Linked DNA regions of Homo sapiens: regions 2, 3, 4, 5, 6 and 7 are each linked to region 1. Evidence: promoter capture Hi-C in 16 types of primary human blood cells and fetal thymus (Javierre and others, 2016). All regions are on one chromosome and are shown on one strand. Each heading gives the region's core, a stretch centred on a gene start or on the middle of the fragment in contact. The rest is flanking DNA. Distances are from core to core; before and after follow the strand shown.

The links. The method cuts DNA at HindIII sites, captures the fragments that hold promoters and counts their contacts. A CHiCAGO score of 5 or more calls a contact.
Region 2: a fragment that was not itself captured here is called in contact with the fragment with the promoter of KAT6B in region 1 in 4 of 17 cell types (total CD8 T cells, M1 macrophages, total CD4 T cells and 1 more); the score reaches 7.0 in total CD8 T cells.
Region 3: a contact is called between a fragment that was not itself captured here and the fragment with the promoter of KAT6B in region 1, in 8 of 17 cell types (total CD4 T cells, naive CD4 T cells, activated CD4 T cells and 5 more). The highest score is 12.0, in total CD4 T cells.
Region 4: a contact is called between a fragment that was not itself captured here and the fragment with the promoter of KAT6B in region 1, in 6 of 17 cell types (total CD4 T cells, naive CD8 T cells, total CD8 T cells and 3 more). The highest score is 9.6, in total CD4 T cells.
Region 5: a contact is called between a fragment that was not itself captured here and the fragment with the promoter of KAT6B in region 1, in 14 of 17 cell types (total CD4 T cells, total CD8 T cells, naive CD8 T cells and 11 more). The highest score is 15.9, in total CD4 T cells.
Region 6: a contact is called between a fragment that was not itself captured here and the fragment with the promoter of KAT6B in region 1, in 1 of 17 cell types (neutrophils). The highest score is 11.8, in neutrophils.
Region 7: a contact is called between a fragment that was not itself captured here and the fragment with the promoter of KAT6B in region 1, in 2 of 17 cell types (naive CD4 T cells and total CD4 T cells). The highest score is 6.6, in naive CD4 T cells.

Annotation. Positions count from the first base shown.
Region 1 is chr10:74,824,916-74,828,348 of GRCh38, forward strand. KAT6B (lysine acetyltransferase 6B) reads left to right here and starts at 1,685. Exons shown (of 18, transcript NM_012330.4): 1 at 1,685-1,870. RefSeq lists enhancers at 1-763, 764-1,535 and silencers at 371-540, 651-750, 861-1,060, 1,751-2,150. The HindIII fragment of the contact is 8,590 bases long and covers 1-3,433 here.
Region 2 is chr10:74,319,572-74,323,004 of GRCh38, forward strand. All of the region lies in intron 4 of ADK (adenosine kinase), which reads left to right. Among named protein-coding and RNA genes, the nearest start is that of ADK, 170 kb to the left of the region's middle. The HindIII fragment of the contact is 747 bases long and covers 1,523-2,269 here.
Region 3 is chr10:74,380,675-74,384,107 of GRCh38, forward strand. The region is part of intron 4 of ADK (adenosine kinase); the gene reads left to right. Among named protein-coding and RNA genes, the nearest start is that of ADK-AS1, 150 kb to the right of the region's middle. The HindIII fragment of the contact is 1,582 bases long and covers 763-2,344 here.
Region 4 is chr10:74,411,488-74,414,920 of GRCh38, forward strand. The region is part of intron 6 of ADK (adenosine kinase); the gene reads left to right. Among named protein-coding and RNA genes, the nearest start is that of ADK-AS1, 120 kb to the right of the region's middle. The HindIII fragment of the contact is 310 bases long and covers 1,778-2,087 here.
Region 5 is chr10:74,428,837-74,432,269 of GRCh38, forward strand. The region is part of intron 6 of ADK (adenosine kinase); the gene reads left to right. Among named protein-coding and RNA genes, the nearest start is that of ADK-AS1, 99 kb to the right of the region's middle. The HindIII fragment of the contact is 513 bases long and covers 1,307-1,819 here.
Region 6 is chr10:75,218,064-75,221,496 of GRCh38, forward strand. It overlaps VDAC2 (voltage dependent anion channel 2), which reads left to right. Exons shown (of 10, transcript NM_001391963.1): 5 at 1,000-1,152; 6 at 1,241-1,293; 7 at 2,680-2,907. Among named protein-coding and RNA genes, the nearest start is that of VDAC2, 9.0 kb to the left of the region's middle. The HindIII fragment of the contact is 7,145 bases long and covers 1-3,433 here.
Region 7 is chr10:74,446,426-74,449,858 of GRCh38, forward strand. All of the region lies in intron 6 of ADK (adenosine kinase), which reads left to right. Among named protein-coding and RNA genes, the nearest start is that of ADK-AS1, 81 kb to the right of the region's middle. The HindIII fragment of the contact is 8,727 bases long and covers 1-3,433 here.

The DNA of each region.
Region 1 (3,433 bases), core at 435-2,934:
CACCGCCCAAGAAAGCACCCAGAACGCGGCTGAGCTCGCCAGCTCCTCGCAGGCAGGGAGAGAGCATCCTGGGGGGCAGCTTCCCCCTCCAGCCCGCGTCTGACATCCCCACTCCCACACAAGGATGCCGCCGCCGTGCCCTGTCCGCAGTCGCTGAATGTCACTGCTCCCTCTTCCTCCCGATCAGGGTAGACACAGCTCCCGAGGCGTCCCCCACCCCAAAACTGCCGCGATCGCCCGAAGGCGCAAAGCCTGGGCGAAGGACGAAGTTTGGGGCCCACAGCGACGGGAGTGGGGACGCGTTGGCGAGGACCGCACCTCAGTCCCAGCCCTGGCGGGCACACTCCCCGCCCCAAACGGCCCAGGCGTCCCCATCCTCCCGCGGACACCAGCGTCTCCGCCCTCCCCCGAGGGCGGCGAGAGGAGCCCCCCGGGGCGGAGGCAGGTACCCCCGGGGCGGAGACTGGGGCGGGCGGGGTCCGGGCTGCGCCCCCGGCCAGGCCGGGCGGGCTGGCGGGCGGCGCGGGGGGAGCGGGGCTGGGCGGCGCTGCCTCGGGCTCTGTGCGCTGCAGCCCGGAGCCGAGGAGGAGGAGGCGGAGGAGGAGAAGGAGGCGGCGGCGGTGGGTCCCGGGCGGGGGGAGCGCGGCGCTGCGGACCCGGGCGGCTGGCAAAGGACGAGGCGGAGGCTGAGGAAGGCAGCGGGGAGACCCAGGCTGCAGCAACAAAGGGCAGCGAGCGATTGGCCGGGCTGCAGGCGAGGTTAGCCGGGGACCCGGGTGGCCGGAGGCAGCGGCGAGCGGTGCACGTGCTTGCAGACACGGGCGAGTGTGGAGCCGGGGGGTGCACGCCCGGTGGGTAGGGGCTTGCTCCCCCGAGGCATGGGATGGCGAGGAGGCTGCAGCGACATCGTTCTGCCTGCACCCGGCCTGGGGCTGGCAGGGTAGGGGTGTGTTGGGGGGGGAAGGATGCGAGCCAGGGGGCGGGCGAGTAGTCGCCCGGGACGGGACGGGACGGGAGAGAGGGTGGAGGAGGGGGCGGGATGGAACGCTCCGGGCGGCGCGCCCGTCCGCACACTCCACCGAAGGAGCTGGCGACTGAGAACCTCGAATTTTAACTTCGCGTGCCCGCCCGCGCGCGCCCGCCCGCGCCCACCCCTAAATCCTGCGGCCGCCGCCAGCGATCAGCTCTCACACAAACTTTAGCTGCGGGCTAGGGGGTTTGGGGTTGAGTGGGGGAGGGGAGAGGGAAAAGGCCTCCTGATTGGCGTCGTCTGCAGCCAATAAGGCTACGCTCCTCTGCTGCGAGTAGACCCAATCCTTTCCTAGAGGTGGAGGGGGCGGGTAGGTGGAAGTAGAGGTGGCGCGGTATCTAGGAGAGAGAAAAAGGGCTGGACCAATAGGTGCCCGGAAGAGGCGGACCCAGCGGTCTGTTGATTGGTATTGGCAGTGGACCCTCCCCCGGGGTGGTGCCGGAGGGGGGGATGATGGGTCGAGGGGTGTGTTTATGTGGAAGCGAGATGACCGGCAGGAACCTGCCCCAATGGGCTGCAGAGTGGTTAGTGAGTGGGTGACAGACAGACCCGTAGGCCAACGGGTGGCCTTAAGTGTCTTTGGTCTCCTCCAATGGAGCAGCGGCGGGGCGGGACCGCGACTCGGGTTTAATGAGACTCCATTGGGCTGTAATCAGTGTCATGTCGGATTCATGTCAACGACAACAACAGGGGGACACAAAATGGCGGCGGCTTAGCTCCTACCCCTGGCGGCGGCGGCAGCGGTGGCGGAGGCGACGGCACCTCCTCCAGGCGGCAGCCGCAGTTTCTCAGGCAGCGGCAGCGCCCCCGGCAGGCGCGGTGGCGGTGGCGCGCAGCCAGGTCTGTCACCCACCCCGCGCGTTCCCAGGGGGAGGAGACTGGGCGGGAGGGGGGAACAGACGGGGGGGGATTCAGGGGCTTGCGACGCCCCTCCCACAGGCCTCTGCGCGAGGGTCACCGCGGGGCCGCTCGGGGTCAGGCTGCCCCTGAGCGTGACGGTAGGGGGCGGGGGAAAGGGGAGGAGGGACAGGCCCCGCCCCTCGGCAGGGCTCTAGGGCAAGGGGGCGGGGCTCGAGGGCGGAGGGGGGCGGGGCGGGATCGGGTGGGGGCGGGGTTCGGGGAGTCGGAAGGCGGGGGCTGAGAGGGAATTTCTGAGTGGGAGTGAACTGGTAGGAGCGGTGGGGGGCCGGCGAGGGTGTGAGGAAGACTAGTGAGGGTTGGGTGGGAGGAGAAGCTGAAGGTGTAGAAGCAGGTGCAGAGGGAGAGTTAGGGAGGGATGCAATTTGAGAGAAGTGGAAGGCGGACCGAGGGGTGTGTGAGGGCAGGTGAGATGATACCGAAGGCGAGATTGCAGTTGTCTGGGCGCAGAGTAGGTGGGTTTGGGTGTGGTGGATGTGGAGTAGAGTTGAAGCGGTGCAGAGTGTTGGGTTTGGGGAGGCGTTGAGGGGTTTGGGGAGGCATTGAGGCGCATGTGAGGAGCAGGTACGATTGCAGTGATGGGAAAGAGGTATCTGGGTGGATCGCATGTTGGAATAAGAAGGAGGTTTGCTAGCTTTGGGGTATGAAGTATTTTTTAAAAACGTGGAAGGATGGGATGGTTGTGCTTGGGAGAGTTTCTGAAAGATGATGCTAAGACAGCAGAGCAAACTTAAATATGAAGGAAGGGGAGAGAGGCTGCTTAGAACTTGCAAAATCTGTGGCAGAAAATCTCCTGGGGACAAGGGATTGGTAGGGGTGGGACAAGGCGGCAGGTGTGAAGAAAGTGGGTGGAGCTGTACAGTAATTTTCGGTGAATGTGATTTGGTGGACTGTGCCAGGGGTGAGGATGGGGCAGAGAAAGGTGTTAGTTTGGGAGACAAGTTGTTTGATAGGCTGTATTTATTATTTTTTATAAAAATGAGAAAAGGGTCTCACTATGTTGCCCAGGCTGGTCTCGAACTCCTGGCCTCAAGTGATCTGCCCACCTCTGCCTGACTGATGGGATTACAGACGTGAGCTATGGCGACCCGTGATACGCTGGATTCATTATGTTAAACTTGATCTGGAGTCTTCAAGGGAGTGTCCGGCAGCAGGGTATCCCAGGAAGAGACATGCACCATACCTTGGGATAGGACATTTTGCATAGCTTTGAATTTGCTAGTACTTTGCTGTGGGCAGAGTGCAGGGAGTGGTAGGAGATGACCAGGCAAAGGCAGAGGAGGGGTTAGATTACAAATGGTGTCCTATGCCCCATGAAGGAGTTTAAGCCCTGTAATTGGTAGAAGGTGTTGGGACGTGTTAAAGAGAGTGTTAGACAGAAGTTGTGAAGGGGTAGTGATAAAGAATTACAGATGTGGGAAATAGGAAATGAAGACCAACGAACCAAGTATGTTTGGGGTTGGAGGTACCAAGGAAATTCAGGGT
Region 2 (3,433 bases), core at 646-3,145, 510 kb before region 1:
GGTTTAGGGCTTCAACATATGCATAGTGGCAGGAGGGTCTGTGGAGGGGTGTTTATAATTCAGCCGATAACAACTATGTGTTTTTAAATTTTTGTGTCTAAGTAATAAAACATGAATAAGTTAATTTTTGGTAGTGTTCTTTTTTGATACCTTCTTCCTTTTCTTTCCTGTATATGTTTTAGTTACTTTTATTATTTACCATTTGAATTACAATGAACATTCTAAACTCATAACAACCTAATTTGAATAATACCAATGTAGTTTCAATAATATACAAACACTCTGCTCCTTTACATCTCCATCCTCTTCTTATATATTATTACGCTCATTGATTACGTCTTTATATATTGCATGCCCATTAACATAGATTTGTAACTATTCTTTTATTCATTTGTCTTTTAAATCATATAAAAATAAAAGGAATTACAAACCAAAAGTTCAGTGATAGTGGCATTTATATTTACTATGTAGCTACTTTTACCAGAGTTCTTTACTTCTTCATATGGCTTCTGGTTACTATCAAATGTCCTTTCATTTCAGCCTGAAGGACTCTCTTTAGCATTTTGTGTAGGGCAGGTCTATTGTTAACAAACTGTCTTAGCTTGTGTTTATCTGGGAATGTCTTAAATAGCCCCTTTATTATAGGATAGTTTTGTTGGATATAGAATTCTTGGTTAACGGTGCTTTTCTTTTAGTATGTTAAATATGTCAACTCACTGCTTTTTGGCCTACATGGTTTCTGATGAGAATTAGTTCTTATTCTTACTGAGAATCCTGACTTGTGACCAGTTGCTTTTCTCTCACTGATTTCAAAATTCTTTCCTTGTCTTTGTCTTTCAGCAGTTTGACTATAATGTGTCTTGGTGTGAATCTTTTTGTGTTTATCATGTTTAGAGCTTATTAAATTCATGCTTCAAGTTCATGCTTGGATGTGTAGATTCATTCATTTTATGAAAGTCAGGAAGTTTTGGACCATTATATCTTCAAAAATTTTTTTCTTTTATTTTCTCTTTGTTTTCCTTCTGGCATTCTCATAATTAATATGTTGGTCTGTGGTGATTGTTTAGTGATAAGGATTCTGATTAAATAAGATAGAAAAAAACACCATGGTGAGTAAGCAAAGCAGAAATAGAACCCCACTGTTTTAACTAGTAACCTCAGCTTGCTTTTTTTACCGGAGATTTTTCTCTCATCCTGAGAAAACTTCAATTTTTACTTCTCTAAATGTTAGAGATTTTGAGTAGTGTTTCACATGCTTTCTTCACTTCTTACTGTCTTCTTCAATTTGGGAGTAATTGTAGGTTGTCAGAGAGAGTGTCGAATATGCATCACTTTAAATACAGTTATCAGTAAATGGACTCTTTCATTCATGCTTCCCAGAGATGACAGTTTTCCTTGGTGCCTAGATACCTTTTTGTTCCTTGGAGATTCATAGTATTATGTGACTCATTGAATTTTTCAGAAGCCTGATGGTGAGCTTCGTGAGGTATTTCTATTTAAGTTGTAAGTTCGCTTGTTTTTAAGCTTCCTGCAATTTAACTTACCTATAGTATTTTTAAATTTATTTTAAAAATGCCATCTTGGGGTATATTCTAGGCATCTCAAAAATTTTAAATACCATCTTATCCTTTGTTAACTGGAATATAAGCAGGTAATCATTTGAATCATTTTTTTTCCTGTAATTATTATAACATTGAGGCTATATGGATTTTTTTTTCTTTTTTTAATTTGAGGCAGAGTCTTGCTCTGTCACCCAGGCTGGAGTGCAGTGGTGCGATCACAGCTCACTGCATCCTTGACCTCCTGGGCTCAAGGAATTCTCCTGCCTCAGCCTCCTGAGTAGTTGGGACTATAGGTGCACACCACCACACCCACCTTATTTTTAACTTTTTTGTAGAGATTGGGTTTTGCCATATTAACCGGGCTGGTCTTGAACTCCTGGGCTCAAATGATCCTCAAGACATTAGCTTGGTCTCTTCTCAAATTAGCAGATCCTTATTTCTGTCTTATAATTTCTAATCTGCTTTTATAATTATTGACTTACATTCAATCTTCCAGTTTTTCATGTCTCTTCCAATTAGATAAGCCTCCATATTTGTATTTAACTTCCAGTAAAATTTTAACCATGTTGTTTCATTTTTAATTAAAATTTAAGAGGACTGCCTAAATGCCAGTGTGTTTATGTTGTATACATCTCGGGGCATGCTTTTAAGTGTTTTCTTGATGTAAAACATCACATAATAAACTAGTGTTCATAATTGTATTTTAAAGCTTTCCAAAATTCTATGTAAAATGAGTTTCTAAAAACACTAAACAAAAGAAGTTTTAGGAATTATGTTTGAATGAAATAGAAACATTGAACTCAAAATTGTAAAGCTGATATTTCAAGAACTACCAATTAGTGTAACATTACTAATTGAGTTACAGTATTTAGAAGTTAAAACTGATGTAAATCAAAGGACTCATGTTGTTTATCTATTTTGAATCCTTTTTTGAAAAAAGTTAATCTTTAAAGTTTTTCTGTATTAAAAAAATCTGATTATCTCTTGTGACCTATTTTACCTAGAAAAGCTAGTTAGAGGTTAAAAGGTTTTTTATGAGACATACTTCTGTGCATCGGAACAGTCCAGATGTAAATTTAAAAAGAAGAAATGACAATGAAGTGATCAAAGAGAATTCTGTGTTCAAATGCTTTCACCTGGAGCAGTTGTAGAAATGTCAGTAGCACAACTGTATTTATAATTATAGCAGGATGTGGCAGATGGTGATGCAACACCGTCTCGTCAATTCTTTGTGTCATTGAAGAAAGTAGTAAGTATTAATTCTGCCAATTTTATGATTAATGAATAATTTTAAGTAACACAGGCCCTACGAATAAGGTTGACTGTTCAAATTGTGATACCTCATTATAGTTTTTAAAGTTTAAATATGAATTAATACTCCTCTTTGCCTTTCTGTTCTCTTTCCTTTTCAAATTAGGTTGTTAAGTTTTCATAGCTAAAATAAGATGAAGGAAGCAGTGGCTTGCTGTCCTCAATTATATTTTTGATGTGTTTGTGAAATTATTATAACTTAGATCAGATTCTTTAAAGAAAAATCAGTATTTCATTTTTTCCTTTCCTCCCTTTTCTCCCTCTCTCCTTTCCTTGTCTCTCTCCTTTCCTTTCTCTCTCTTCTTCCCTTTACCCCTCCTCTCCCCTTCCCTTCTTTCTCCTCCTCCTCCCTTCCTCACATCTCTTTCCCTTCTCCTCCTACCCTTCCTCTTCCCTCCCCTCTTCTTCCTTTCTTCCTACTTTGTTTTATGCATTATGTTAAGAAATTGTTTTACTGCTATTAGTGATAACATGCTTTTAGTTCTGTCTTAGCAGTTATGGTTGTGCTCTCCAGGATAAATCTACACATATCACAGTTATCCACTTCATAAAAGAATGAC
Region 3 (3,433 bases), core at 304-2,803, 440 kb before region 1:
TTGAACCTGGGAGGCAGAGGTTGCAGTGAATCGAGATCGTGCCACTGCACTCCAGCCTGGGCGACAGAGTGAGACCCTGTCTCAAAAAAAAACACATTTTTTTATTTAGCTATTAGCTTCTAGGCAAAATCTTAAATTTCAGAAAATAATTATACTCATATAGTCATACTACCTGTCAGGGAAATGTGTCAAAGGAAATATGAAACAATAGCTTTAAAGTTGTCCCGCACCCTCACCCTGTTTTTCTTTTGAAGGTATTATACTAAAGGAAGAAAGGGAAAAAGAGAAATCTATGGTGTGAGTTCAAGTTTACTACTGTAAGTGTTTAAGAAAGGGCTCTGTTACCATGACAACAAATGCATGAATTTCATGTGGAAAATTTTCAGTGTATGGGACTGATAAAATTGTAACATTCTGATTTTCTCTGGTATAGAATTGTTCTTTGTCAAGTTAAAAAAAATCTGTTAATATATGTTAAAATTAAATTTTTAAATGTTTTATGATATTGTTTTCTAATTGTTTATTATAACTTAAAATCATAGCCAAAAGAGTGTACTTTCGTAGATCTGTCAAGCAGAAAGTTAAGTATTTGATTTGACATTAAAAATTACTTTTCTAATCTGTATTAGATTTTTGCTAAATGGTAAATAAAATGGTAAATAGTTTCATGTATTGGGAGTTCTTGACAATAGAAAATGACCTGCCACTTTATAGATTCCTTTGCCTTAAATGCTTACTAACTCAGGTAGAGGAAAGCTGTTAAGCTTTAAGTGCTTTGTCATATTTGCAGGCTTTTATAGTGGAAGAGAACAGCAGTCAGCAATGATGATGGAAAACTGTGGCAGGTAGACTTAAAACACCATAAAGCACAGACGATTGTGTGTAATGCCTTGAATTGAATCCTTTTTGAATGAAATGATCAGCCATATGTGCCACCCTTATGGACCCTGTAAGAAGAGTAGAAGAAATGTGCCCTAATGCTAACTGTGCATGAAATTGCAGTGTTAGGAGATATTGACCAGATGTTTCAATCTCAGCAAATGGCTTGTTATGTGACTGAGTGAAAATATCTTTGCTGCTTTGATCACATACACCTTGAAGGAAGGGGTAATTTAATAGAGGCTGTCATAGTTCATCATTGTCAATAAACTTTGACTTGACCTTTGCCTTACGTTTTTGATGTTGCTGCTGTTAAGTGTTGTTGGGCAGATGTTTACTGCCTTGAGGGATTTTGCTTTTTATAAAGTGTATACTAGAAAAAGTAAAGGAGAAGGATTTTCTCAATTCTTTTCTTATTCTTTGGTTATTAGTTGGCATGCTTCTCTGTGGATTTTGTAGAATTTCTGGGCAGATGCATTTGAGTGACATTCTTATGTCTAAAGATCACTGTGGTGTTTCTCTAAAGGTTTCTTCCTTTCCTCACCTTCCTTTTTCTTTTCTCGAGACATGGTCTCACTCTGTCACTCAGGCTGGAGTGCAAGTGATGTAATCTTGGCTCACTGCAGCCTCTACCTCCCAGGCTCAGGCGATCCTCTCACCTCAGCCTCCTGAGTAGCTAGAACTACAGGTGCACACCACCATGCCTGGCTAATTTTTGTATTTTTTCTAGAGATGGGGTTTTACCACATTGCCTAGGCTGGTCTCGAACTTCTGAGCTCAAGCCATCTGCCGGCCTCAGCCTCCCAAAATGCTGGGATTGCAGGTGTGAGCCACCGCACCTGGCCCTTTCTCACCGTTTTGTCCTGGTTTTAATTTACCACAATAAACTTCCTTGGTGGTTTTTCTTTCTTATTTTATATACAGCCTATTCTTTTGTTCTGATGAAAGTCACATTGAATTAAAACTTGACACCTATTGTAACACCATACCAGGTGCTGTGTTATTTTTTTATCCCTAGTTTTGGAGACCTTTGGAGATAAATCCATGCTATTTTGTAATCCATTTTTGTTAATCTTAAGAAATTGAGTGAAAGTTTCAGTAACACAATTTTTTTAAAATTATAAGATACAGTATTTTAAAATTTTGGTAAATAGCTTTGGATTAAATGAGTTTCTTGTTTAATTTGATGAATTTGACTCAGTTCTGTAACCTTTTTGCTCTTTTTCTTGAAAAGAAAAAGGCTTCCTCACTGGCTATATCTGGGTTCTGCCTACACTCTTCCCTCACTTCCCCTTGGTGTAGGTGGCCTAGACCGTGTTAGTCACCTAATGAAATCTGTGAATCCTCTCTTGAAAAACACAGCAAAGTTTCCTTACAATTTCAGGATGTTTATTGGATTTTCCCCCCCTCCTCTCACACATACCCTGCAATGATAGGGGCCCCTGGACTTCAAGCAGACTAACAAAGCTTAGAAAATAAGATTCATACTCCTTCTTAGTATTCTAGATATATAACAATTTGACTTAGAAGTAACAATAACAATAGTATTAGTGATACTGCTACAATAATTACAACAGTAATAATAATAATAATAATTAAAATTTACTTTCTGCCAACCTTATGCCAGATTCTATGCTGAACCTTTAACCTGTATTACTGGTTATATTGTTAATGATACCTCTAGATAGAGTATATGCAGCATACTTTTATTCTGTACTTTAGGAAATACTATATCTTTAGAATACAGATTTGAGTAAGAGATTATAAGCATTTTGATTCTAAGACTTTTTGGAATACTGAACTTTTAGTTTTCTGATTCCAGTAGTCAGTCTGTCTGTCTCTGTCTCTGTCTCTGTCTCTCTCTCTCTCTCTCTTTCTCGGCCTCTCTGCCATTCATCTTCTTCTGAAAATTAGCTATCCCACGTAAGCCTCATATATCCCCTAATTCCTATTTGTAGTTGTGAGGGAGGAAAAATATTTTCCTTCTAAGTTCTCTGCTGTAAGATTCTTGTAACAAAAGACAGATTAACAAAAGTTAAGTACACTAATTTATATTCTAAGTTTTATGTAACATAGAGGGAAATGAAGACTTGAAGAAACAATTAAACCTGGTGTTTTTACATTAGGTTTTATGAAGAGTGGAAGGGAAAGGCAATAGGACAAAAAGGGGTATGAACTAAGAGTAGTAAACTGAGGGGACCTTAGCAAGACCTGTTTGTTTAGATTCATCTCATGTCCTTACATCTTCTGAGATAAGGATGTTCTTTTTTTCTGCATATAGTAAACATCCTCTCACATGGATGGTCTTATGATTTGCTTCAGAGGAAATCAGAAAGTCCTTCCTGCACCTGCTGTTCTCAAATTCCTTCAGCTTAAAATTTTCAGTATGTCAAGTGCCATATTTTGGGGGTAGTGTGTCCTGATCTCCATCATAGTTAAGTGTCAGCTTGGACACAGTTTCTCATATTTATCTTAGGAAATCTTCTTTGGCCACTCTGCAAAGACTAAGGTGCTACTTGCATGTTCTGCAACAACTCCTATTATATATATATCA
Region 4 (3,433 bases), core at 683-3,182, 410 kb before region 1:
TACTCTCAAGTGTGTGGTAGCATTACATCTTTAAAAATAAACATACTTTAATTAAAAATACTTTGTTGCTAAAAAATGCTAGTGATCATCTGAGCCTTTAGCGAGTAATAATCTTTTTGCTGTTGGAGGGTCTTGCACCAGTGTTGATGGCTGCTGACTGCTCAGAGTGGTGGCTTCTGAAGGTTGGGGTAGCTGTGACGATTTCTTAAAATAAGACAGCAATGAAGTTTGCCACATCAATTGACTCTTCTTTCATAAAAGATTTCTCTGTAGCATACAATGTTGTTTGATAGCATTTACCTACAGTAGAACTTCTTTGAAATTGGAGTCAGCCCTCTCTAACTCTGTTGTTGCTTTAACAGTTATGTTTATGCAGTATTCTGAATTTTTCGTTGTCATTTCAACAGCATTCATAGCGTGTTCACCAGGAGTAGATTCCATGTCAAGAAACCACTCTCTGTGTTCATCTATAAGAAGCAATTTCTCATCCATTCAAGTTTTATCATGTGATTGCAGCAATTCAGTCCTATCTTCAGGCTTCACTTCTAATACTAGTTCTCTTGCTATTTCCATCACATGTGCATTGACTTCTTCCACTGAAGTCTTGAAGCCCTCAAAGTCATCCATGAGGGTTGGAATCCACTTATTCCAAACTCCTATTAATGTTAATATTTTGACCACCTCACATGAATCGTGAATGTTCTTTTTTTTTTAAACAGGGTTTTACTCCTGTCACTCAGGCAGGGAAGTGCAGTAACAATCACTGCACATTGCAGTCTCAATCTCCCAGGCAAGCTCAAGCAATCCTCCCACCTCATCATTTATTTTATTTTTGTAGAGACGAGGTCTCACCATATTGGCCAGGCTGGTCTCGAACTGCTGGGCTTAAGTGATCCTCCCACTGCGGCCTCCCAAAGCGCTGGGATTGCAGGTGTGAGCCACCATGCCCAGCCCATGAATGTTCTTAATGACAACTGGAATGATGAATTATTTTCAGGAGGTTTTCAATTTACTCTGCCCAAACCCATCAGATGAGTCACTATGGCAGCTATAGCCTTATGAAATATATTACTTAAATAAGATTTGAAAGTCAAAATTACTCATTGATCCATGGGCTGCAGAATGAATGTTGTTTTAGCAGCCGTGAAAACAACATTCATCTTCTTATACGTCTCCATCAGAGCCCTTGGGTTACCAGATGCATTGTTAATGAGCAGTAATATTTTAAAGGGAATCTTTTTTTCTGAGCAGTAGATCTCAACAGTGGGCTTAAAATATTCAGTATACCAGCTGGGCACAGTGGCTTATGCCTGTAATCCCAGCACTTTAGGAGGCCAAGGCGGGAGGATCACCTGAGGTCAGGAATTCGAGACCAGCCTGGTCGACATGGTGAAACCACATCTCTACTAATAATACAAAAATGAGCTGGGCATGGTGGTGCACACCTGTAATCCCAGCTACTCAGGAGGCTGAAGCAGGAGAATTGCTTGAACCCTGGAGGCGGAGGTTGCGGTGAGCCAAGATTGCGCCATTGCACTCCAGCCTGGGTGACAAGAGTGAAACTGTCCCCAAAAAAAAAAAAATTCAGCATACCATACTCAAACAGGTATGTGTTCATCCAGGCTTTGTTATTTCATTTATAGAACACAGGCAGAGCAGATTTAACATAACTCTTAAGGGCTCTAGGATTTTTAGAATGGTAAATGAGCATTGACTTCAACTGAAAGTCACCAGCTGCATTAGCCCCTAAAAAAAAAAGAGTCGTCCTATCCTTTGAAGCTTCGAAGCCAAGCATTTACTTCTTTTTAGCTGTAAAAGTCTTCAATAGCATCTTCTGCCAGTAGAAGACTCTTTTGTCTATGTTGAAAACCTGTTGTTCAGTGCAGCCACCTTCATCAATGATGTTGGCAAGATCTGGGTAACTCTTCAGCACCTGCTATTTTACCTTGCACTTTTATGATATGGAGATTGCTTCTTTCTTTCAACCTCACAAATTAGCCTCTCTTAGCTTCAGACTTTTCTTGCACAGCATCCTCACCTCTCAGCTTTAACAGAATTGAAAAGAGTTAAGGTTGTGCTCGGGATTAAGCTTTGACCTAAGAGAATGCTATGCTGGTTTGATGTTCTATACAGACCAGTAAAACTTTCTCCATGTCAGCAATAAGCTTATTTCACTCTCTTATTCATGCGTTCACTGGAGTAGCACTTTTAATTTTCTTCAAGAACTTTTTCTTTGCATTGAGAACTTGCCTGTTTGTTGTGAGAGGTCAAACTTTCAGCCTGTCTCACCTTTCGATATGCCTTCCTCACTAAACTCAATCATTTCTAGCTTTTGACTTAAAGTGAGAGACATGCAACTCCTCCTTTCACTTGAACACTTAGAGACCACTGTAGGATTATTAATTGGCCTAATGTCACTATTGTTGTGTCTCAAGAAATAGGGAGGCCTTAGGAGAGGTAGAGAGATGGGGTAATGGCCAGCTGGTAGAGCAGTGAAAACACAGCATTTATCAGTTAAGTTCACCATCTTCTATGGGTGTGGTTTGTGGCATCCCAAAACAATTACAATAATAATATCATAGATCAGTGATCACTATAAAAGATATAAAAGTTTGAAATATTGAAAGAATTACCAAAATATGACAGAGATCCAAGCGAGCACATTCTGTTGGAAAATAATGACACCATACTCAAGGCAGGCTTGCCATAAACCTTCGATTTGTAAAAAAAAATAATAAAAAGGTATCTGTGAAGTGCAATAAAATAAGGTATGCTTATACCAAAACAGACTTAATTATGCTATTTCTTACCATTAGTGTTAGAGTTCAGTTTCTAATGTTTTTCATTTTCCATATGTTATTGATGTTCAGTGAGTTACACAAATTATTTACTGTTGTTACTTCCACCTTAGTAGGGAGAATCTTTGATTTTTGCTGGATAAATTTTCAAACAAGAGTGTGATTATAGGCTGGACGTGGTGGCTCACGCCTGTAATCCCAGCATTTTGGGAGGCCGAGGTGGGCAGATCACTTGAGGTCAGGAGTTGGAGACCAGCCTGGCCAACATGGTGAAACCCCCTCTCTACTAAAAATACAAAAATTAGCCGGGCGTGGTGGCGCATGCCTGTAATCCCAGCACTTGAGAAGCTGAGGCAGGAGAATGGCTTGAACCTGGGAGGCAGAGGTTGCACTCCTGCCTAGGTGACAGAGTGAGACTCCATCTCAAAAAAAAAGAAAAGAAAGAAAAGTGTGATTACAGAGATCCTATTTGTGTTTATTTTTAATTTCTCTAGAATTTGTTTTCTTCAATAAATAAAATTCTAATACCAGTTTTTTTTGAGTAACACTGTGATTTTTATACAGAAAGACTTTCTCCAAATTGGAGAATGTACTCTTTTATTCCTGTAATTTTTCTTAACTCTTATTTTTGGCAG
Region 5 (3,433 bases), core at 313-2,812, 400 kb before region 1:
AGTATCACCTCCAGTGAGAGTCAAATGAACATTGTTTGCCTCCTTATGTGTTTATCTGTCCCTGAGAAGTACACAACATCATCTATGCAGTTTCTGGCCCAGAATGCATCTCAACTCAATCACAAGAGAATATTATGCATACATACAGAAAAAGAAAGAATACAACTGAACATAGATGATAAAGAAAATGAGGTAAAAATGTGACAACAGATGAAAATGGATAAAGGTATTTTCTGTGTTTTTATTTTTGGAACTTTTTGTACATTGAAATGATTGCCAATGGAAAAGTTTAGATAAATTGTCCTAAAGTTACAGAGAACTTGCAGGGAAAAACATCTTAAAGTAGACTAATAGTGGAGAGTCATAAAAGACACTTGGCAAATCTTCTTAGTTGAATATTATTCAAACTATTCAGTCAGGGAACTGATTTTGTGCTAATTATGAAATGCATTATTGCATTGACTTTATGTCTCTTACAACATTAAATTATGTTACCTAGGATCAATTTGAGATTCAACACATGATAGTAGTTTAATACAGTGAAGTCATAACTTGCAACAAACTATCCCAATTTTAAGAATTAATTCTGAGCAATTTTTATATGCATGAAAAAGATGGTTAGAATTATTTGCAGACACTTGCATATTCTTTAGTCAAGTGGTCTTATTACCATAATTCATATCTGTTGTGGGAGTAGGGAAGAAAGAGATTTAAAAAATATCTATCAGTTCTTTCAATCAAGTTAGGTATAATATTAATAGACTTTGAGCTAAGAAAGTTTTCATGACCAGAAGAGGAGCAGGAACTGTCTAACATAGAAAATGTTTATGGTATACCATAATCAGTTATACAAATATAAAAGGAAAAAATGTTTGACTAGTGATACTCTCAAACTTGGATATCCAGAAGAGTGATTCTGTCAGTACACTAAAAGCAAATTCATCTATCAGGAGCTTTCATGTTTTCATTCAACAAATATTTATCCAGTGCCTATTATGTACCAGATAGTGTTATACTGTGAATCGGGAGCATATGTTAAAATAGACAATATAGTAGACATTATTCTCTAAAATTATTAACAATAGTAGCTAATACTCATATGATACTTACTCTGGGCCACATACCATTCTAAGATCTTTACATATAGTAATTCCTTTACCTCAAACAACCTTATTAGATTGGTACTATTATTACCTCTATTTTATTGATGAAGAAACAGAGGCACGGAGGTGTTAACTTTCTCCAGGTTTCACAGCTAAAAGTAGCAGACCCAGGATTTTGAATCCATCAGACTGGCTTGTGTCCAAGCTTTTTTTAATTAATTTTTTTTATTTTGACATAATTTGTAGATTCACATGCAGTTGTAATATAATACAGAGAGATCTCATGTACTTTTTACTCAGTTTCTCGAGGTAACTTCTTACAAAACTATAGAACCATATCATAACCATCATATTGACACTGATATAGTCAAGGCTCCAAATATATCTGTCACCACAATGATCCTTCATGTTGCCCACCCACTTCCCTCTGTTCACCTATTGAAAGACATCTTGGTTGTTTCCAGTTTGGAGCTATTACAGATAAAGCTGCTGTGAATATTTGCACATAAGTTTTTGTATGAACACCAATTTTTGGCTGGGCGTAATGGCTCACACCTGTAATCCCAGCATTTTAGGAGGCCGAGATGAGAGAATTGCTTGAGGCCAGAAGTTCATGACCAGCCTGGTCAACGTAGCAAGACCCCATCTCATTTTATAAAAATAAAAAATTATTTTTTAAAAGGAACATCAATTTTCATTACTTTAGACTGCCTCTAAGCTTTTAATTCTTACATTCTACCACCTCTCAATATATAGTAGGGAATAAATAGTAGAGAATGACTTGATGGTTAAGTTGACATTCAGAAGAGGCCTGAAGGAAGTGAAGAAAAAAGCCATACAGCTGTTTGGGGAAAGCACATTTCAAGCAGAGGGAACAAGCACAGAGGCCTTGAGAAGGAAATATGCCTAGAGTGTTTGAGACAGAGCAAGGCGGCTGGAAGGAGATGAGTTCTACAAGGCAGCTATGAGCCAGGTCTATAAGATGTGGCTGCTATATAGAAAATAGATGGTGGTTGGGCAAGTGTTGAAGCATGGGGAACTATTAAGAGGCTGCCCATCGGAGCTTGCAGTGAGCCGAGATCCCGCCACTGCACTCCAGCCTGGGCGACAGAGCGAGACTCCGTCTCAAAAAAAAAAAAAAAAAAAAAAAAAGAGGCTGCCCATGTGAGAGATGATGGTAGCTTAGACTTATGGTGGAAGTGTTAAAGATGGTTCAGATTCTAGATATGTTTTGAAGAAGAGCTCACAAAAATTTTTCTGATGGGCTGACAGTTGGATATGAGAAAAGGAAAGGAGGCAAGAATGATTCCATTTACCAGGTTCCAAGAGAATGATTACAGAAACCAATAGATTGCCTTATTTATTTATAGTAGGAAATGTAGTTATCACATCGGCCCAAATGTTTGTGTCTGCTTAATCCGCATATCTGTTTCTTTAGGCAAACTTGCATTGGAATGTAATGGCGACTGCAGAATCAGGATAAGGGGACTTGAATAAATCAGTCTTTAAATGCATCTGAGGCCGGGCATGGTGGCTCATGCCTGTAATCCCAACACTTTGGGAGGCCGAGGTGGGCAGATCACTTGAGGTCAGGAGTTTGAGACCAGCATGCCCAACATGGTGAAATCTTATCTCCACTAAAACTACGAAAATTAGCCAGGTGTGGTAGCTGGCACCTGTAATCTCAGTTGCTCGGGAGGCTGAGGCACGATAATTGCTTGAACCTGGGAGGCGGAGGTTGCAGTGAGCCTAGATTGTGCCACTGTGCTCCAGCCTGGGCAACAGAGCAAGACTCTGTCTCCAATCAATCAATCAATCAATCAGTAAGATACATTTCACTCCAGCCTGGACAACAGAGCAAGACTCTATCTCAGTCAATCAATAAGATACATTTATCTCTTTAGTAGGGACCTGAAAAAATTAAATTCCATAGACAAAAGGCTTTCTGAGCTCTTCTTTAATAAGTAGTGTTGGCAGATGCAGTGGCTCATGCTTATAATTCCAGCACTTTAGGAGGCCAAGGCGGGAGGATCCCTGAGGCCAAGAATTTAAGACGAGCCTGGTCAACATAACAAGTCCCTGTCTCTACCAAAATAATAATAATAATATTTAGACATGGTGGCTTGTGCCTGAGGTCCCAGCTACTCGAGACGCTGAGGTGGGAGGATCCCTTGAGCCCAGGAGGTCAAGCCTGCAGTGATCCATGGTTGCACCACTGCACTCCAGCCTGAGCAACAGAATTTTTATTTTTATTTAAAATAAAAGTAGCACAAACATTTGCTTTTGTTTCTCTTTCATAATGCACCAACACTACCCTAACCCCCAACATA
Region 6 (3,433 bases), core at 520-3,019, 390 kb after region 1:
GGTGACAGAGGCAAGATGCTGTCTCAAAAAAAAAAAAAAAATTCAGATAAGCCCTCCGTATTTTTTCTTTTTCAGTTCGTGTGCAACCAGGGATTGGCACATTATTATTTTTAGACAGGGTCTCACTGTGTCACCCATGCTGAGTGCAGTGGTGGGATTATGGCTCACTGCAGCCTGGACCTCCCAGGCTCAAGCAGTCCTCCCACCTCTGCCTCCTGAGTAGCTGGGACTACAGGCGCACACCACCACGCTGAGCTGGTTTCTTAATTTTTGTAGAGACATGGTCTTGCTATGTTGCCCAGGCTGGTATCTAAGTGCTGGGATCACAGGCATGAGCCACCACACTCAGTCCCCCATTGATTTTTGAATCCCAAATAAAATCACCTTAGCAAAACCTTCCTTAAAAGATGTACAGTTAGCTGGGGTGGTGGCTTACGTTTGTAATCCCAACACTTTGGGAGGCCGAGGTGGGTGGATCACCTGAGGTCAGGAGTTGGAGACCAGCCTGACCAACATGGTGAAACTCCATCTGTACTAAAAATACAAAAATCAGCTGGGTGTGGTGGCGGGCACCTGTAATCCCAGCTACTTGGAAGGCTGAGGCAGGAGAATCACTTGAACCTGGAAGGCGGAGGTTGCAGTATGCCGAGATCACGCCACTGCACTCCAGCCTGGCGATAGAGCGGGACTCTGTCTCAAAAAAAAAAAAAGGTGTACAGTTTGTTCACTTGAGAATTCACTACAGGTTAACTTGTGATTGATTGGAAGTGTCAGCTGTGTATGTAAAGTGGCAGTCAGTTGCTCAAAGGCTTATTTGTCACTCTTATATATGCTTAGAGAGTAGCACAGTGCAGAAGGATACGAGTGTTTAGGAAGCTAGAAAAAGGATTCATGAATTTACCAAATGTTTCAGGGGGTTTGTGTGTGTGTGCGTGTGTAAGGCAGTGATGAATTCTAGGCTTATGAGAATGTTCATGAAGTTATTGATTGTCTTGTTAGGAATTTTCAACGTCCGGTTCATCTAATACAGACACTGGTAAAGTTACTGGGACCTTGGAGACCAAATACAAGTGGTGTGAGTATGGTCTGACTTTCACAGAAAAGTGGAACACTGATAACACTCTGGGAACAGAAATCGCAATTGAAGACCAGGTAACATTTTGAAAATTTTAGTATTAATTTTATTAATTTATTTTTGTATTTCAAAAAAAGAAAACAAATTACTTTTCTTTCAAAATAGATTTGTCAAGGTTTGAAACTGACATTTGATACTACCTTCTCACCAAACACAGGGTAAGCACAGACATTTTTATCTGTATTACATTTAAAAGTATTTCTCTTTTGTATATTTAGAAAAGGTGTACATTTACTGTTTGATAGCTTATTAAGCTACCTTGTGGTGGTGAAATCTCTGTATCTGCTTTTATTTATTTATTTGAGATGGAGTCTTTGCTGTGTCACCCAGGCTGGAGTGCAGTGGCATCATCTTGGCTCACTGCAGTCTCAGCTTCCTGGGTTCAAGCGATTCTTCTGCCTCTGCCTCCCTGAGTAGCTGGGACTACAGGTGCGTGCCACCACGCCCAGCTAATTTTTGTATTTTTAGTAGAGGCGGGGTTTCGCCATGTTGGCCAGGCTGTCCTGGAACTCCTGACCTCAGGTGATCTGCCCACCTTGGCCTCCCAGAGTGGTGGGATTACAGGCATGAGCCACCACGCCCAGCCTTTTTTTTTTTTTCCATATTTTATTTTATTGTATTTATTTTATTTTATTTTATTTTCATTTGGGACAGAGTCTTACTCTGTCACACAGGCTGGAGTGCAGTGGCGCGATCTCGGCTCACTGCAACCTCTGCCTCCCGGGTTTAAGTGATTCTCCTGCCTCAGCCTCCTGAGTAGCTGGGATCACAGGCATGTGCCACCACGCCCACCTAATTTTTGTATTTTTGGTAGAGACAGGGTTTCACCGTGTTGATCAGGCTGGTCTTGAACTCCTGACCTCGTGATCTGCCCACCTCAGCCTCCCAAAGTGCTGGGATTACAGGTGTGAGCCACCGCTCGCAGCCTGTTTGTTTATTCTCTGTCACCCAGGCTGGAGTGCAATGGTGCGATCTTGGCTCACTGCAACCTCTGCCTCCTGGGTTGAAGCGATTCTCCTGCCTCAGCCTCCTGAGTAGCTGGGATTACAGGCATATGCCACCGTGCCTGGCTAAATTTTTTTGTATTTTTAGTAGAGACGGGATTTCACCATGCTGGCCAGGCTGATCTTAAACTCCTGACCTCAGGTGATCCGCCCGCCTCAGCCTCCCAAAGTGCTGAGATTACAGGCGGGAGCCACCATGCCTGGCCCATATCTGCTTTTAGAATACTATGGTTGCTATCATTGGCTTGCCTTCAAATATTTGCCTCTTTGTTGTTGCACTAACTTGGGCAACTAATGTGTTTCTAACAGGCTTTTGTGACTGATTGTTTGTTCTGCAAAGCAGTTTTCCTAGATGGCTGTCCAGTTGCTTCATGTGTCCTTGTCTTGTAGTTCATTGAGCTGACTTTTTTACTCCCTGTTATTGTATTGCTGATTTTTACTCCCTGGTCATACTGCAGTTTATTTAAGTCTGTTTTGTGCTCTCTTGTGCAGAAGTGTGTGTAAATTTTTCCCAATGACATCAGTTTGTTCTTTTTCCAGAAAGAAAAGTGGTAAAATCAAGTCTTCTTACAAGAGGGAGTGTATAAACCTTGGTTGTGATGTTGACTTTGATTTTGCTGGACCTGCAATCCATGGTTCAGCTGTCTTTGGTTATGAGGGCTGGCTTGCTGGCTACCAGATGACCTTTGACAGTGCCAAATCAAAGCTGACAAGGAATAACTTTGCAGTGGGCTACAGGACTGGGGACTTCCAGCTACACACTAATGTGTAAGTATTTCTTTCATAGGATACTGTGATGTGGGCCCTCAGAGGATGATTTTGATGTCTGTCATCTTATTGATCTGGGTGCACCCTAAAGGATTTCTCATAACATTTAAAAACAAAATCATTCTTGGTCATTTCTAGGGTGCCCCTTGAAAGTTTATAGTAGAAGACTGTTAGTCTGACCTTTGGTGCTGAGAGAGTAAATGTTCATTTTATATGGGGTTTAATGTGCTTTGTATTTTTACAAGAGGCATTATATATTGGCAGACTGCTACCAGTACATTCATTTTACTTAATTATTTTGATGTGTGAGATGCTGACTTGATAGGATTGCCTAAAATGTATGGTGTTTTGTGGTTGGGTTTTTTTTTCTTTTTCTTTTTTCTTTCTTTTTTTGTTTTGGTTCAGACAGAGTCTTGCTCTTTTGCGATCTCGGCTCACTCCAACATCCGCCTCCCGGGTTCAAACAATTCTCCTGCCTCAACCTCCCAAGTAGCTGGGACTACAGGCGTGTGCCACCATGCCTGGC
Region 7 (3,433 bases), core at 396-2,895, 380 kb before region 1:
TAAACTAGGTTGCCTGTGGAAGTATAGTGAGAGACGACGATAGGAAAGAAGATAGGATGGGGTCAGAAGAACCTTACATTCCATGCTTAGGAGTATAAACTGTATACGATAAGCAGCTGGGAACCATAAAATCCTTTTAAGAAGTATTGTGATATAAGACTAATTTGAAAGAATAGTGAGAAGGTGGATAATTGTACATTTGATTTTATTCCTTTATGCTAATAATTCCCATGTACATACAGTGAATGAAATATAGGAGACAAACATCTTCAACTATTCTCATTTCTTATTGGTTTTAGAGCTTGGAAATATGTTAAAAAGACATGTAAACTAGTTCCATCAATTGTATTTCCTCCTATTTAGATAGTACAGTGATTTTGAGCAAACTGTTAACATTGATTTTAAAATCCAAAATATATTATTAGTCTATAAATCACTGCATGGTTCTCATTCATTGATTTTCACTTAGGAGGCTTTGGGGGGTTGTTTTGTTTTTATAATGCTTTACCCAAAGCATTTTAAATCTTCTACTCTCCAGTAATAGTTTTTGTCAAATATATTTTGATATCTGCTGTACTATTTGCTATATTTACTTAAACATCTCTCCACTACGTAGAGCAGGTACTATAGGAGGAAAAACTTTTCCTCTACCCTCTTATGTTCAGTAGTTGGTGCTTGCAAATTAAACTGACAAAAAATTAGGAGGATAAAAGGATTATTTTGTATGCACGTGAGAAGCCTCACAGAAAAGAATTGAAAACCCCAAAAAACCAATGAGACCAAGGGGCTTACATATCATTTTAAGAAAGAGTGATAAAGTATGGAGAAGAGACTAGACAAAATGGGGGTTTAGACTTCTGGTGGGGTGAGGGTGGGCATTAATGATAGGTGACTAAGGAATGAGTGGTAAATAAGGGTTGTTTAGTAAGGTTTATTAGGCAGAGTCAAGTGAGAAGAGTCTGCTTCTTCTCTTCCTGGTACTGGAGAGGAGGACGCCATTACAAATATGAATTTCCTTTACAAAAGGGAAATTTATGCCCTATTTTTAGGAAGTAAAGGGGAGGGCAGAGAGCTCCTCCTATGTTTGCTGTTTTAATTGCCTGTAGTTCAAAATAATCCTTATGCTGAAGTGGCATATTTGAGGGTGTCATACTCTGATCCCCTTCACTATAGACTACTCTCTAATACCAGGGTACTGAGTTAAGATAATTCTGAAGGCTTCGCTAATAATCTACTACTCTTTGTCAATTTCCTATCTTAGTTTTCTCATCTGTAAAATGGAGATCATGATAGCACTTACCTCAAAAAATGATAAGAAGTCAATTAAAAAAGCACCAAAAAATGCTTAATAAAGTGGTCTGACACATAGTAAATTCTCAATGAATAATGTATATACTGTTAAGGAGTCATTTCCCTCTAAGAGTACAAAGTACAAAAGAAAAAGTTGGAGCTTAAGATTTAGGTTTGGCTGGGTGTGGTGTATCACGCCTGTAATCCCAGCATTTTGGGAGGCTGAGGGGGGTGGATCACCTGAGGTCAGGAGTTCGAGACCAGTCTGGCCAATGTGGTGAAACCGCATCTCTACTAAAAATACAAAAAATGGCAGACGTGGTGATGCATGCCTGTAATCTCAGCTATTTGGAAGGTTGAGGCAGGAGAATTGCTTGAACCCTGGAGGCAGAGGCTGCAGTGAGTCGAGATCACGCCACTGCACTCCAGCCTAGGCAACAGAGTGAGACTCTGTCTCAAAAAAATAAATAAGAGTTAGGTTTAATCCCAGCTACTTGGGAGGGTGAAGTGGGAGGGTCTCTTGAGCCCAGGAGTTCAAGTCCAGCCGGGGCAACCTAGTGAACACTTCCCTCCACTCCATCTCTTAAAAAGGATGGGAGTGTTCCCAGTGCTGATTATGCCACCTATTAGCCGTATGACCTTGGACAACTGTAAGCCTCAACTTTCCCATCTATGCAATAAGAATCATTTTTACCTCATTAGATTGTTATGAGGATTAAATGAAGCAGCATGTATATATGTGTATATATATACGCATATATACATATAGTATCTTGTATATAATAAGTATTTATTACATGCAATTTCATCTTTTATGTAGACTTTCTAGACTCTAACCTTGCCCCAGGAAGATAAGTGACTTTTACATTAAGCCATGTTCTCTTTTTCCTTTATGACACTCCTCAATGCTTAATGAAGAACTCTGGCTACACAAAAAACTAAAGTAAAATGTTGACAGACTGCTTTTTTCTACATCTGGGCTTCTTTAATTGAAAGCTGACATTTAGGCCAAGAATTGTTAGGAATTCCTATTTAGGTTTATACCAGTTCTCGCTTATATACAAGATGTATACTTGTGTATACATGTTATTTACACACATACAATAATATATACTGGCTTTCTTTTTTTCCCTCTCATCCCATAACAGATAGTATACTGCCTTTTTTAAAAAAAAAAATGCCCACTTTTCAAATTAAAAAGCAGAGGCACACATTCTTTCCAAATGTATTAGTATAATTTGAAATAATGAGATTGTATTAATAGGATTCAGCCACAGAAACAGACCCATTAGGGAAGATAGAGTGAGAATAAGATTTATTTGTTGGTTGATCGATTTTGAGGAATTGGCCTATGTCATTGTGGAGACTGGCTAAGTAGTCCAAAACCATAGGGCAGGCAACCAGGAAGGGGAGAAAGCCTTGAACTTCTTAGGCATGGGCAGAAGCTGTCATTCATAGGTGGAATTTATTCTCTCTGTCAAGGAAACTTAAGCCATGCTTTTCTTTTTAAATTTTATTATTATTATACTTTAAGTTTTAGGGTACATGTGCACAACGTGCAGGCTTTTACTTTCAACTGATTGAATCAGGCCCCTCCAGATTATCCAGGATACTCCAGTAATAGAAGTCAACTGACTGGGAGTTTTAATTACATCTGAAAAATACCTGTATAGCAACACCTAGATTGGAATTTGATTGAATAACTAGAGTCTGTAGCCTAGTCAAGTTGTCACCTCAAAAAAACCATCTTGGGATAAAGTTTTTTGAAAAAAGAAATAGAAAGTTCAGGGCATTTTGGTCATTATTTTTGTGTATTGTGCCTATTATATCTTTTTATTTTAAATTTTTGAGAATCTGTTTAGTGCCTAGTATTTTGCCAAGATTATAAAGGAAACAAAGGTATCTTAATGTTTTTTTCAAATCTTAACATCTTAAAGTTGTTTCAAGCATTTTCCCTGAATTCATTGATTAAGTATTGTTAGAAGAAGTGGAACATGGATGATGCATATGCTTTAGATTGAGGCAGGAGTATGTGTGGTGACTAAGAGAGTAAGAAATGATGATCTCGAGAATACTAGACTGTGAGCTTTCTAAAAGCTGGTATCGTGTGTTATTTATCCTTGTATTGCCATGGCCTGGCACA